Regions from separate parts of the Homo sapiens genome. Here regions 1, 2 and 4 are each linked to region 3. The links are contacts of gene promoters, found by promoter capture Hi-C in blood cells and fetal thymus (Javierre and others, 2016). All regions are on one chromosome and are shown on one strand. The core of a region is centred on a gene start or on the middle of the fragment in contact, and the rest is flanking DNA. Distances in the headings are between cores, read along the strand shown.

Evidence for each region. The method cuts DNA at HindIII sites, captures the fragments that hold promoters and counts their contacts. A CHiCAGO score of 5 or more calls a contact.
Region 1: a fragment that was not itself captured here is called in contact with the fragment with the promoter of TEX19 in region 3 in 6 of 17 cell types (activated CD4 T cells, naive CD8 T cells, naive B cells and 3 more); the score reaches 8.5 in activated CD4 T cells.
Region 2: a fragment that was not itself captured here is called in contact with the fragment with the promoter of TEX19 in region 3 in 6 of 17 cell types (naive CD8 T cells, activated CD4 T cells, total B cells and 3 more); the score reaches 7.8 in naive CD8 T cells.
Region 4: a fragment that was not itself captured here is called in contact with the fragment with the promoter of TEX19 in region 3 in 1 of 17 cell types (activated CD4 T cells); the score reaches 7.9 in activated CD4 T cells.

What each region holds. Positions count from the first base shown.
Region 1 is chr17:82,569,413-82,572,325 of GRCh38, reverse strand. FOXK2 (forkhead box K2) reads right to left here. Exons shown (of 9, transcript NM_004514.4): 4 at 456-602. Among named protein-coding and RNA genes, the nearest start is that of FOXK2-AS1, 18 kb to the left of the region's middle. RefSeq lists an enhancer at 848-1,347. The HindIII fragment of the contact is 5,606 bases long and covers 1-2,913 here.
Region 2 is chr17:82,528,401-82,531,473 of GRCh38, reverse strand. All of the region lies in intron 1 of FOXK2 (forkhead box K2), which reads right to left. Among named protein-coding and RNA genes, the nearest start is that of FOXK2, 10 kb to the right of the region's middle. The HindIII fragment of the contact is 2,689 bases long and covers 422-3,073 here.
Region 3 is chr17:82,357,581-82,360,780 of GRCh38, reverse strand. It overlaps TEX19 (testis expressed 19), which reads right to left and starts at 1,534. Exons shown (of 2, transcript NM_207459.4): 1 at 1,496-1,534. RefSeq lists a silencer at 54-348. The HindIII fragment of the contact is 12,499 bases long and covers 1-3,200 here.
Region 4 is chr17:82,203,434-82,206,712 of GRCh38, reverse strand. All of the region lies in intron 1 of CCDC57 (coiled-coil domain containing 57), which reads left to right. Among named protein-coding and RNA genes, the nearest start is that of CCDC57, 7.8 kb to the left of the region's middle. RefSeq lists enhancers at 197-306, 377-436, 1-722, 546-840, 767-946 and 1 more. The HindIII fragment of the contact is 677 bases long and covers 1,060-1,736 here.

The sequences.
Region 1 (2,913 bases), core at 97-2,596, 210 kb before region 3:
GTTCCTTGGTAAAATGCGGTTTGAAAACTGTCTCTGCAAACTTCAAAACTTCTGTCCATTAGCAGGATTAGATGAGGAAGACAGGAGAATGCCAAAGGGAAGGATAGGCTGGGTTTTAAATTTCTCCTACATTTCAAATATGAACTGCATTGGTCAAAGGGAAATATCTCAAACAATCCACACTTCACAAATCCTATGCAGACACATGAATTTCCACAACAGTAAAGCATGCAGGCCTAGACGCTCCTCCAGAACCACGCTTCCTTCTGCTCCACACAAAGAAGGTGAGGCAGAGCATGGCAGCACCGGCCCCCAACTCCTCTTCCTCTCAGCACGGGAGGCTCCAACCCCCCCTTCTACCTTCCTATCCTGTGCCTGTGTTCCAGACAGCAGCCGCTCCACTTTCTTCTCGGTATCCATCAGCCTCTATTTAACAACAAACTGAAGGCATTTACCTGCCAGCCCTTGTCCGCAGTCCTGTAGTAGGGATAATTTTTAGTGATGTGTGTATAAATCCCGTTCAGGGTGAGCTGTTTGTCGGGAGCCATCGTAATCGCCTGAACTATCAGCTGCGCGTAGGAGTAAGGCGGCTTTGAATCATCCTGTATTTAAAAAACAAACACAAAACGAATATTGAAGTTACCATATTTTGTATTAAATTTACTAGATTTAAAGATTCTCAGTGCTTTTAAGTGTTCCTCTGATACCTCATTTGTCTTTTTTTTGAGACAGAGTCTCGCTGTGTCGCCCAGGCTGGAGTACAGTGACGCGATCTTGGCTCACTGCAGTCTCCGCCCTCTGAGTTCAAGCGGTTCTCCTGCCTCAGCCTCCCGAGTAGCTGGGATCACAGGCGCCTGCCACCGCGCCCGGCTAATTTTTGTGGTTTTAGTAGAGACGGGGTTTCACCATGTTGGCCAGGCCGGTCTCAAACTCCTGACCTCAGGTGATCCGCCTGCCTCGGCCTCCCAACGTGCTGGGATTACGGGTGTGAGCCACTGCGCCCAGCCTGATACCTCATTTTTCTTACTATGAAAGTAATACAATTCGAAAACATGGAGGAAACAAATGGAAAACTATAAAGAATATTAAAAATTACATAAGGAAAAAATCCAAATGTCAAAAATGAAGACATAAAGGCTGCTTGACCTCAGTGGAGTCCAAGGCAAAGCACCTCAACCACGACCAGATCCTGTCAGCTACCCCAGGGGTACAGGCGAGGGGTGGGTAAGGCTGGCTGAGGGCTCACAGCCAGCAGCACCCCTCCCCAGGCATAAGCACCAGGGGTGGCCAGGGCTGCCCAGAGCCCCTGGGACTCACCAAATACCCATCCACAAGGAGACCCTGCCGCCCATGAGGAGGAGCCCCCTGGCCCACGAAGAGCCCCATGGAGGCTTCACCTTGGGGTTGGAGACATCCTGGCTGCTGAGTGCCCCGCTGACAGGCTGGCATCCCTGGTCCTGGCTCTTTCAAGGCCACTGGTGGCTCCCTGTCATAGTGACAACTTGAAACCCACACTTACAGGCACGAGCCCACTGGGAAAGGGAATCACTCCTGGTTGTGAACTTCTGGGCAACACGCTTGTCAACATGGATGAAGAGCAACAGATAATGTCGGATGAAAAAATACATTCAAGATGATACTATATACATGGAGTTTTACAATGAACAATTATAGATACTGTTCAAGGATAAACACAAATGGAATGGGAAACAGGCAGGCTGACAGACAGGAGGCAAGGATATCAGAGGCGCCCACATGGGCTTCCATAGCACAGGCCGCGTTCAGCGCTGACAGCTCAGAGTGGGCAGAGGGACGTTTGTCTTTTCTTTTCTGGGGACACGGTCTCACTCTGTCGCCCAGGCCAGAGTGCAGTGGTGTGATCACGGCTCACTGAAGCCTGAACTCCCAGGGCTCAGGTGATCCTCCCACCTCAGCCGCCCCAGCAGCTGGGACTCCAAGCTCATGCCACTATGCCTGGCTAATTTTTGGTATTTTTGTAGAGACAGGATCTTGCTTTTTTGTCCAATCTGATCTCAAACTCCTGAGCTCAAGTGATATGCCCACCTTGGCCTCCCGAAGTCAAATTTGTCTCTCTTTTTTTTTTGAGACAGAGTCTCGCTCTGTCACTCAGGCTGGAGTGCAGTGGCGCGATTTCGGCTCACTGCAAGCTCCACCTCCCGGGTTCACGCCATTCTCCTGCCTCAGCCTCCCGAGTAGCTGGGACTACAGGCGCCTGCCAACACGCCCAGCTAATTTTTTGTATTTTTAGTACAGACGGGATTTCACCGTGTTAGCCAGGATGGTCTCGATCTCCTGACCTCGTGATCCGCCCACCTTGGCCTCCCAAAGTGCTGGGGATTACAGGCGTGAGCCACTGCGCCCAGCCTATCGCTTTTTTTTTTAAACAGAAAAATGTAATCACAAGAAGACCCTCCACATACCTAATTCTTTCTTTTTAGACAGGGTCTTGCTATGTTGCCCAGGCTAGAGTACAGTGGCTATTCAAGGATTGATCGTAGCTCACCACAGCTTTGAACTCAAGTGATTCTGCCTCAGCCTCCCGAGCAGCTGTGACTACAGGTGCATGCCACACTGCCCGCTACGTCTCTTCCTTTAAACAGCTAACAAAGCCTTCGTCACTGTGCCTGTGCTGTTGACTTCCCTGTGATTTTTTTCTATGTTTCTAAAAACTTTTTAAATTGAAAAACATATAAAACAGACAGAAAAGCTCATGATACATTTATGTCAGCTGAACAAATTTTTGCAAAGTGAACATCAGTATACTAGGTCAAGAGACAGGGCACCACCAGCATCCCCAACATGCTCGTATGGGCCCTCTCAGCCCACTACCTCTACTTCTCCAAGAGGCCACCATTACTACTGACTTCTTAGAGTGACCACAGTTTTGCTGGG
Region 2 (3,073 bases), core at 517-3,016, 170 kb before region 3:
AATGCATTTCTCAGAATGATTTCCACAGTTAAGTGATGCATGACTGTACAAGGCCAAAAAAGTCACTTTGGGGAGTCTACCATCAACAAAAACAAAAAAAAGTGGGAGCAACTGTAGAATCAGAAGTGAATTTAATCTGACTTACATTTATAACTGTTTTACATGGTTTCCTATGGTACAGTAGTCACCCAATCCAAACTCAGAAGCCCACATCCAACCAATTCAGCAATAAACATTTGAGTCCTATCGAGTACCCAGAATTCCTGGAGGAGGTCACCCAGGGGTCAAAGGCTACAACCCCAGGAAGTGTACAATGTAAAGATGAATCAGCCCAGCCCACAGAACACTTACATGCAGTTCACTCAAGTGTACAGGATTTCAGCTGTGTTTAATCACGTGTGGACAAGTCCAGGGGGAAGCTTGGCAAAGTGGGAACAGGTCCTCAAGGAGGACCCAGAACAGACATTTTATATTTAAACCACATCTTCTTCCACCCAGCTCAAATGGCTATCAAAATGATGTTCATTATCCTAACATCCTCCAACAGCTCAGAAATGGCAAAAACACAGAATTTTTAAAACATTCTCTATATACTCAAAATGCTATCGTATTCTGAAAAATACAAGACCAAAAAAGCCACTTTGAAAACACAACAGTAGACCGGGCACAGTGACTCACACTTTGGCCTGTGATCCCAACACTTTGGGAGGCCAAGACAGGGGAATCACCTGCAGTCAGGAGTTTGAGACCAGCCTGGCCCACATGGTGAAACCCCGTCTCTACTAAAAATACAAAAATTAGCAGAGCGTGGTGGTGGCGCCTGTAATCCCAGCTACTCGGGAGACTGAGGCAGGAGAATTGTTTGAACCCGGGAGGAGGACGTTGCAGTGAGCTGAGATGGCGCCACTGCACTCCAGCCTGGGTGACAGAGCGAGACTCTGTCTCAAAAAAAAAAAAAAAAAACACATCAGTAGTTTTAAATTTCCTTATTTCGGGTTTTCTCTCTCTTTTTTTTTTTTTTTTTTTTTAGATGGAGTTTCACTCTTGTTGCCCAGGCTGGAGTTCAAGTGATTCTCCTGCCTTAGCCTCCCGAGTAGCTGGTATTAGAGGCATGCGCCACCACACCCAGCTAATTTTGTATTTTTAGTAGACACAGGGTTTCTCCATGTTGGTCAGGCTGGTCTCGAACTCCCGATCTCAGGAGATCCGCCTGCCTCAGCCACCCAAAGTGCTGGGATGACAGGCGTGACCCAACGTGCCCGGCCTATTTCAGGTTTTCTATATTCCATCTGTCCAAATGAAAGTCAAAAGATGAGTTTTCTTACTGCCAATTATTAATGACTAAACACCATTAAAAACAGCACCTTGAGAGCCATCTTTCCCAGCGTGGCTGTGCTAACAATGACGTCACATCATCAGTTCATTCTCCAGTGGAACCAGGAACACAAAAAACTGGAACAATTCAGCTACAGCTCATTGTCTTTTTTCCCACTAAAGATAAACGTTCTCAGAATATCTGTATCAATGTAACTAAGGTATTCCTAGTTCTCAGAATATCTGTATCAGCCTAATTAAGTCAATAAATACGACTAAGAGAACACATTACAAACGTAACAATGTTAGGCTACTACTGCCTTAAGGGACCTAGTTGTATCTTCTTACAACCAGGGATAGCAAGACAGAACTGCATTCCGAGAGTGTCCTTTCAAAGCTGCAAAGGGAGGAGTTATCTAGTGACTCCGCAATGAGTCTCAACCTCCAGGCTCTGTTTTACAAAAGGCACTTTCAGGTGGGGCGCCATGGCTCACGCCTGTAATCCCAGCACTTTGGGAGGCCGAGGCAAGCGGATCACCTGAGGTCAGGAGTCCGAGATCAGCCTGGCCAACATGGTGAAACCCTGTCTATTAAAAATACAAAAATTAGCTGGGAGTGGGCACGCGCCTGTAATCCCAGGTACTCAGGAGGCTAAGGCAGGAGAATCACTTGAACCTGGGAGGCGGAGGTTGCAGTGAGCCAAGATCGTGCCACTGCATTCCAGCCTGGACGACAGAGCAGAACTCCATCTTGAAAAAAAAAAAAAAAAAATTAGCCGGCGTGGTGGCACGTGCCTGTAATTCCAGCTACTCAGGAGGCTGAGGCAGGAGAATCGCTTGAACCCGGGAGGTGGACACTGCAATGAGCCAAGATCACACCACTGCACTTCAGCCTGGGAAACAGAGCAAGACCCTGTCTCAAAAAAAAAAAAAAAAAAAAAAGGCGCTTTCAAGTATAATTTGAACAGATGCTTTGGTAGCATAAAGGTTTTAAGCAGGAATCATCTGTAAAAAAAATTATTAAAACTTACCACCAGTAGGACCAAGAGTCATAACCAACTTTTATTATATTATCAGCTGCCAGGTTGCTACGCAACAGGCGGCTCTCCCCTCCTGCGTCCTGTGCGTTGTAAGATTTTTCAGTGGCATCCCTGGCCTCTGTCCACTAGATGCCAGTAGCACCCGTCCTCCCAGTCTATGCCAACCAAATGTGCCTCCAGACACTGTCATACGTCCCAGGGAGGGGAAGGAGGCAGACTCACCCCGGTGTCGTACTCCAATGCCCTTCACAGGACAAAGAACACAAGCATTCCATCTCAAATGACAAACTGCAGCAAAAACCAAATACTGTCTAGAAATCTACGGAATTCTCAGCAGAGCACCTTCTCTGTTCCTAACAAATCAGCAGAGGCGTTTGAAGCCCAATGTGCACTCTAAACTGACGTGCACGAGGAAAGCAGGGCCGCAGGGGCTGTGGCTCTGGCACGAGGTACTTTCTGGTCTCCCTGCCACCACTTCCTAGGTACAGCTGTAACACCTTGTTCCGTGCTCAAAGCCCGCTTCACATTGTAGAGATGGTAATGTGTGCCTTAAACATGCCCTCCTGTACTGCATTTTAGCAGCAAATTCAAAAATTCCTCATGAAAAAGTGTGGAGGTTGATTTACTATGACTGTCATTATTTAAGATATTATAAATTGCTCCAAAAACCAAACATAAAAGAAAACAAGAGCCCCACAAAAATGTTAAACAGATAAGAAT
Region 3 (3,200 bases), core at 285-2,784:
AAACTTGAGGGAAACTGGGGGAACCTGAGGGAAACTGGGGGAACCTGAGGGAAACTTGAGGGAAACTGAGGGAACCTGAGGGAAACTGGGGGAACCTGAGGGAAACTTGAGGGAACCCGAGGGAACCTGAGGGAAACTGGGGGAACCTGAGGGAAACTGAGGGAACCTGAGGGAAACTGGGGGAACCTGAGGGAAACTGGGGGAACCTGAGGGAAACTTGAGGGAAACTGGGGGAAACTGAGGGAAACTGGGGGAACCTGAGGGAAACTGAGGGAACCTGAGGGAACCTGAGGGAAACTGGGGGAACCTGAGGGAAACTTGAGGGAACCTGAGGGAAACTGGGGGAACCTGAGGGAAACTGAGGGAACCTGAGGGAAACTGGGGGAACCTGAGGGAAACTTGAGGGAAACTGGGGGAAACTGAGGGAAACTGGGGGAACCTGAGGGAAACTGAGGGAACCTGAGGGAAACTGGGGGAACCTGAGGGAAACTGGGGGAAACTGGGGGAACCTGAGGGAACCTGAGGGAAACTGGGGGAACCTGAGGGAAACTTGAGGGAAACTGGGGGAAACTGGGGGAACCTGGGGGAAACTGGGGGAACCTGAGGGAAACTGAGGGAACCTGAGGGAAACTGGGGGAACCTGAGGGAAACTTGAGGGAAACTGAGGGAACCTGAGGGAAACTGGGGGAACCTGAGGGAAACTTGAGGGAAACTGGGGGAAACTGGGGGAACCTGGGGGAAACTGGGGGAACCTGAGGGAACCTGAGGGAAACTGGGGGAACCTGAGGGAAACTTGAGGGAAACTGAGGGAACCTGAGGGAAACTGGGGGAACCTGAGGGAAACTTGAGGGAAACTGAGGGAAACTGGGGGAACCTGAGGGAAACTGGGGGAACCCGAGGGAAACTTGAGGGAAACTGGGGGAACCTGAGGGGAACTTGAGGGAAACTGGGGGAACCTGAGGGAAACTGGGGGAAACTGAGGGGAACTTGAGGGAAACTGAGGGAACCTGAGGGAAGCTGGGGGAAACTGAGGGAACCTGAGGGAAACTGAGGGAAATTTGAGGGAAACTGGGGGAAACTGAGGGAAACTTGAGGGAAACTGAGGGAACCTGAGGGAAACTGGGGGAACCTGAGGGAAGCTGAGGGAAACTTGAGGGAAACTGGGGGAACCTGAGGGAAACTTGAGGGAAACTGAGGGAACCTGAGGGAAACTGAGGGAAACTTGAGGGAAACTGAGGGAACCTGAGGGAAACTGAGGGAACCTGAGGGAAACTGAGGGAAACTTGAGGGAAACTGAGGGAACCTGAGGGAAACTGAGGGAAATTTGAGGGAACTTGGAGAACCTTAGGGAACCTGAGGGAAACTGAGGGAAATTTGAGGGAAACTGAGGGAACCTGAGGAATCCTGGCCCCGCTTCAGCCTCCCAACCCCTCACCCAGCACCAGGCCGTGTCTCCGAGACCCCTCCTCAGAGACCCCTCCTCGGGAGATCTCACCATCCTGGTGTCTCTGTTCATGTGGGCACCCAGGGAAAGGAGGAGGCAGAGCCCATTTGGGTATATAAAGGGCCATTTCCCATGGTGCTCTGGGCTCATCTGCATATCTCCCATGAGCCTCAGTTTCCAGGAAATGAAAGTGCTGAGTCACCAGCTCCCTCCAAGGAGGGCCATGTGCAGCCCCTGGGCACCTGCAGGAAGGCCCTGGAGAGGCAGCTCCTCTGGGGGCTGGAGATTGGGGTGGGTGCTCTCCGTCTGCAGGCTGGCACAGGGTGAGCATCCAGCCTGTGGTTGCTGGCCCGTCGTGGGCACGACGTCCTGGTCCTGCCGCGTTTGTAAAACGTGATCCCTGCTTTGCTGTCTCTGTCTTAAAGTTCTCTGAATTTTAAGAACCAGCCAATTGTCAATTAGTTATTGTTTAAACACATTTTCCCCTTTGTGGTTCATCTCTTCGCTCTTTAAACAAGACGCTTATAAATTAACACTTGTTTTTTCAGTAGACTCTATTTTTTACAGCAGTTTTAGGTTCATAGCAAAATTGAGCCAAAAGCATGGAGCTCTCCCACCGCTCCCCTGCTCCTGCAGGTGCACAGCCTTCCCCAGTCCTCCCGTCCCAGCCATTTGTTACACGTTGTTATTATCATCATCGCCCTCTGCAGTTTCCATTATGCTTTCCTCCGGTGCTGTGCATTCTGCAGGTTTGGACACATGTATAATCATGCAGACCCACCACTCTAATATTGTACAGACGGGTTTCTCCGCCCCGATTCATCTGTGTTCTGCATTTTCATCACTCCCTCTCCCAGCCCCTGGCAACCAGGAATCTTTTGACTGTCTCCTTAATTTTGCCTTTTCCAAAATGTCACAGAGCTGGACTCATACATTATGTAGCCTTTTCAACTTCTTTTTTAGTAATACGCACTTTGGTTCTTCCATGTCTTTTGTGGTTTGATAGTTCACTTCTTTTTTTTTTTTTTTTTTTTTTTGAGACAGAGTCTTGCTCTGTCACCCAGGCTGGAATGCACTGGTGAAATCACAGCTACTACAGCCTCAACCTCCTGGGCTCCTGTGATTTTCTCACCTCAGCCTCCCAAATAGCTGGGACTACAGGTGCTGGTGCACACCCCGATAAGTTTTGTATTTTTTGTGAGACAGGGCCTCACCATGTTGCCCACACTGGTATCAAACACTTGGGCTCAAGTGATCCGCCTGCCTCTGCCTCCCACAGTGCTGGGATTACAGACGTGAGCCACCTTGCATGGCCAGCTCACTTATTTTTTAACACTGAATGGTATTCCATTGTCTGGATGTACCATGGTTTATTTATCCATTCACCTATGGAAAGACATCTTGGTTGCTCCCAGGTTTGGGCAATTATGAATAAAGCTACTACAAATATTCATGTGCAGGTGTCTGTAGACATAAGTTCTCAACTCATTTTGGTAAACTCTAAGGAGTGAGATTGCTGGATGCTGTGGTCAGAGTGTGTTTAGTTTTGTAAGAAAGTGACAAATTGTCTCACACAGTGGCCCTGTGGGAGGAACCCCCAAACCCTTTCCCTACATCCCCATGACCTCTGCTCCTCCCCACCTGGCAGCTGTCTGTGCCTGGCTCAGGTCATCCACACACCTGGGGCTGCCTGCCACCCCCACCAGGTTAGGGCTCAGATCAGGGCCACCCCTCACCCTGGGGCTTCCTCGTCCCA
Region 4 (3,279 bases), core at 149-2,648, 150 kb after region 3:
TTTGGGTTCGATTGATTTGCTGGGGTGACTCACAGAACCCAGGGAAACACATACGTGTAACAGTTTATTATAAAGGGTATTACAGAGGATACAGATGAGGAGATGCGTAAGGGGAGATATGGGGGAAGAGGCTTCCTGGAGGACCCCCCCACACCCCACCCACCACTCCCCAGGAACCTCTCCACACCCTGTCCTCTTGGGTGTTTAGGGAGGCTTCCTGAAGTCAGCATTCCTTCCCCCAGGGTAGAGGGTGGGAGCTCTGGGGAGGATCTTATGACCTACAATGGAAAGTCAGGTGAGAGTGGAGACCTGGAAGGATTCTGTTTCCTGAGGCCTGACACGCCCAACATTGCAACAAAAGACTGTGACGTGTGAGAGTTATGAGCCAGGAACTGTGCAAGAAAACCATGATGTGTCATTGTACCACAACAGGTAAACCTACAACATCACCGTTAGCTCAGCTCAGTATTTTTAAAATGAGAAAATCAAAGTGATGGGATGCCCACCCATGCTGTTCCAGCCCCTGCTGGGAGCTGGCTGGTTCAGGGAGCCCCACTGGTTCTCCTGAAAGAGGGTGAACGCACAGCGAGGCCTTCCCTCCCCGGCGGCTTCTCCTGCCGCTCCCCAACCCGGAAGCTTCATGGTCCTTCTTGAAACCAGGTGCTTGCTGGGGACGCCTGCTGGCCGACAGGCAGATTGCGTCCAGATGCTGAGTCCGTGCTTTTGAAAGCCAATTAATCTCAGCCTTGGGGCTTTGGGGATCATCCCGAGATGGGATTTGTACAGAAACAGAGCAGGCCGTTCTATGATGAGGTCAGAAGGAAAGGCGAGCCGAGCCCGGCTGACTTACAGGCCCTTGGTGTGTGGGGCTTCTTATGGGTCCTGAGTGTGATGGATAAAGCGCTGGAGATGCTGGGCTCTCACCGGGTGCTGCACCGAGTCACTTGCTGTATGGATTTTTCAGGCTGCTCTTCTGTGCAGAGCACAGAGGCCTGGGAGCACCCATCTCACATAGAGGGGGTGGTACGTGCCATCTGCCTGTCCTGGCTGCCTGAAGCTTTTGAAAACAGGGTGACCCGCTGAGTCCTGAGACCTGGTGGGAAGGAACCTCACCCAGTGGGGAGATGGGGGCATGGGGACCTGGAGTAGCACGTGCACAGGAACTGGCAGATAAAGGCTGCTCTGGGCCTGCAGGGAGCAGCTGGAGCCACGCAGGCTGGGCCGTGTCCTCGGTCTGTCTTCATACGCTGTGCCAAGGAGATCGGACTTTATTTTGAAAATGGTCAGGAGTCGCGGGCACATTTGAGGCCAGATAAGATTGCATGATCAGATTCTCAGAACGGCAACCCCCATGGGTGGCTGCGACCAATGAGTTAAGGAGGCAAGCCCAGTGGCAGGGCAGCTGGTACAGGACGGGGGCCACAGCAGTCCCTCAGAGAAGAGGCCCGTAGACCTCGCAGACCTCAGGCTCTGCAGAGAACCGTTGTCATGACTCACGGGCACTGTGTGAAGGGTTCTGAGTCATCAGAGATCACAGTGGTGTTCCATCATTTAATGTGTATTTGCTGATAGTCCAATTCTTTCCCTGTGTGTGCACAGGTGTGTGCACAGGTGTGTGCATGTCCTCTGTGTACAAAATGTTTCAGTCGCCAAGACTGTGCCAGACAGTGGGACTCACTACACCCGACACTGGGGTGATGGCGTTGTGCCAACGTGAGATGGAAGTTAGGAAAGCTTCCCTGCAGTGATGTTCAGGTTGAGGTCCCACTGGCAGGAGGAGCCTGCCCTGCGGTTAGGAGGAACCTTGCAGACAGAGCGGCACCTGCCACACATCCCAGGCTCTGAGGGCACGTGGCAGCGACAGGCAGGAGCCTGGGGTCCAGATGTCCTCAGTGGAATGGGAAGCCTGGTTAAGCCTTTTTTTTTTCTTGAGATGGAGTCTCTCTTTGTTGCCCAGGCCGGACTGCAGTGGTGCGATCTCAGCTCACTGCAAGCTTCGCCTCCGGGGTTCACGCCATTCTCCTGCCTCAGCCTCCCAAGTAGCTGGGACTACAGGCGCCCACCACCACGCCCAGCTAATTTTTTGTATTTTTAGTAGAGACGGGGTTTCACCGTGTTAGCCAGGATGGTCTCAATCTCCTGACCTTATGATCCGCCCGCCTCGGCCTCCCAAAGTCCTGGGATTACAGGCATGAGCCACTGCGCCCGGCCCTGGTAAAGCATTTTTGAAAAGATTCCTTTGGCAGCCAAAAAAGTGGGAGTGCACAGCAGAGGCCAGTTGAGGTCTCTTGTGGTAAGACACTGTGGTGGCCGAGGTGTGGGCACAAGGTGGGAGACAGCAAGAGGTCAAGGATCATTACACGGGGTGGACGGTGGGGCCGTTGTAGGAGCTGAGGGAGACGAGGAACAGGAGCGTGGGAGAGTGCTGAGATGGTCGGTAGGGACCCTGTTAGCTCCGGCAATGGGTGGGCACGCAGCAGCTTGGAGGAGCCAGGCTGAGGTGGTCCAGGTGGCGTGATGGTCCTAGGGTGCTGGGCGCGGGGGTTGCATCGCAGGAAGCATGTGGGATGGAGGAGACCGTCTTTGCTCCAGAGCCTCGTCAGAGAAGCGCCGTCTCAGGACCCCCAGGGAGCCCTCGTGCCCCCAGCGGGTGTGCCCTGCTGACCAGCCCTTTCTGGAGGGGCCCACGGGTCTTGCAGCCCCTTACCCACCTCCTCCTTGTGCTTCGTCACAGCCGGTGCTCAGCCTGGCTGTGCCCTTGTACCCGCTCCCTCTGGGAGTTGGGACTTTGTACAACCATTGCTGTGCCCCGAGATGCAGAGGTGCCCGGAGATACAGAGGTACCCTAAGACAGGCTGGGGCTTTTTCCTGCTCTGGCAGCAGCACCCCGGCCATGTCCCACCAGGCCGGAAGTTTGTGCTTGTCCCCCAACTGGGTGTGGCCCTTTTAGGCCATGCAGTTCCCCTGTGTGGACACCAGAGAAGAGTTGTGGGGGATTTCTGTGTCCAAATCGAGCTCATACTTGGACCTCTAAAGGGTTGGGGGCAGCTAGGACCAGCCAGAAGAAACTTTATCTTTTAATAGACCACTCACTGCAGCGTGGAACTCCTGAGTTTGAATGACCCACCCACCTCAGCCTCAGAAAATGTTGGGATTGCAGGCGAGAGCTACTGTGCCCAGCTTATTGGTTTTTGTGATTTTTGTTTTTAAATTTTATTTTTTGTAGCACTTTATTTTTATGGTTTTACCAAAATATCAGTCCATGATGAACAAATAAAA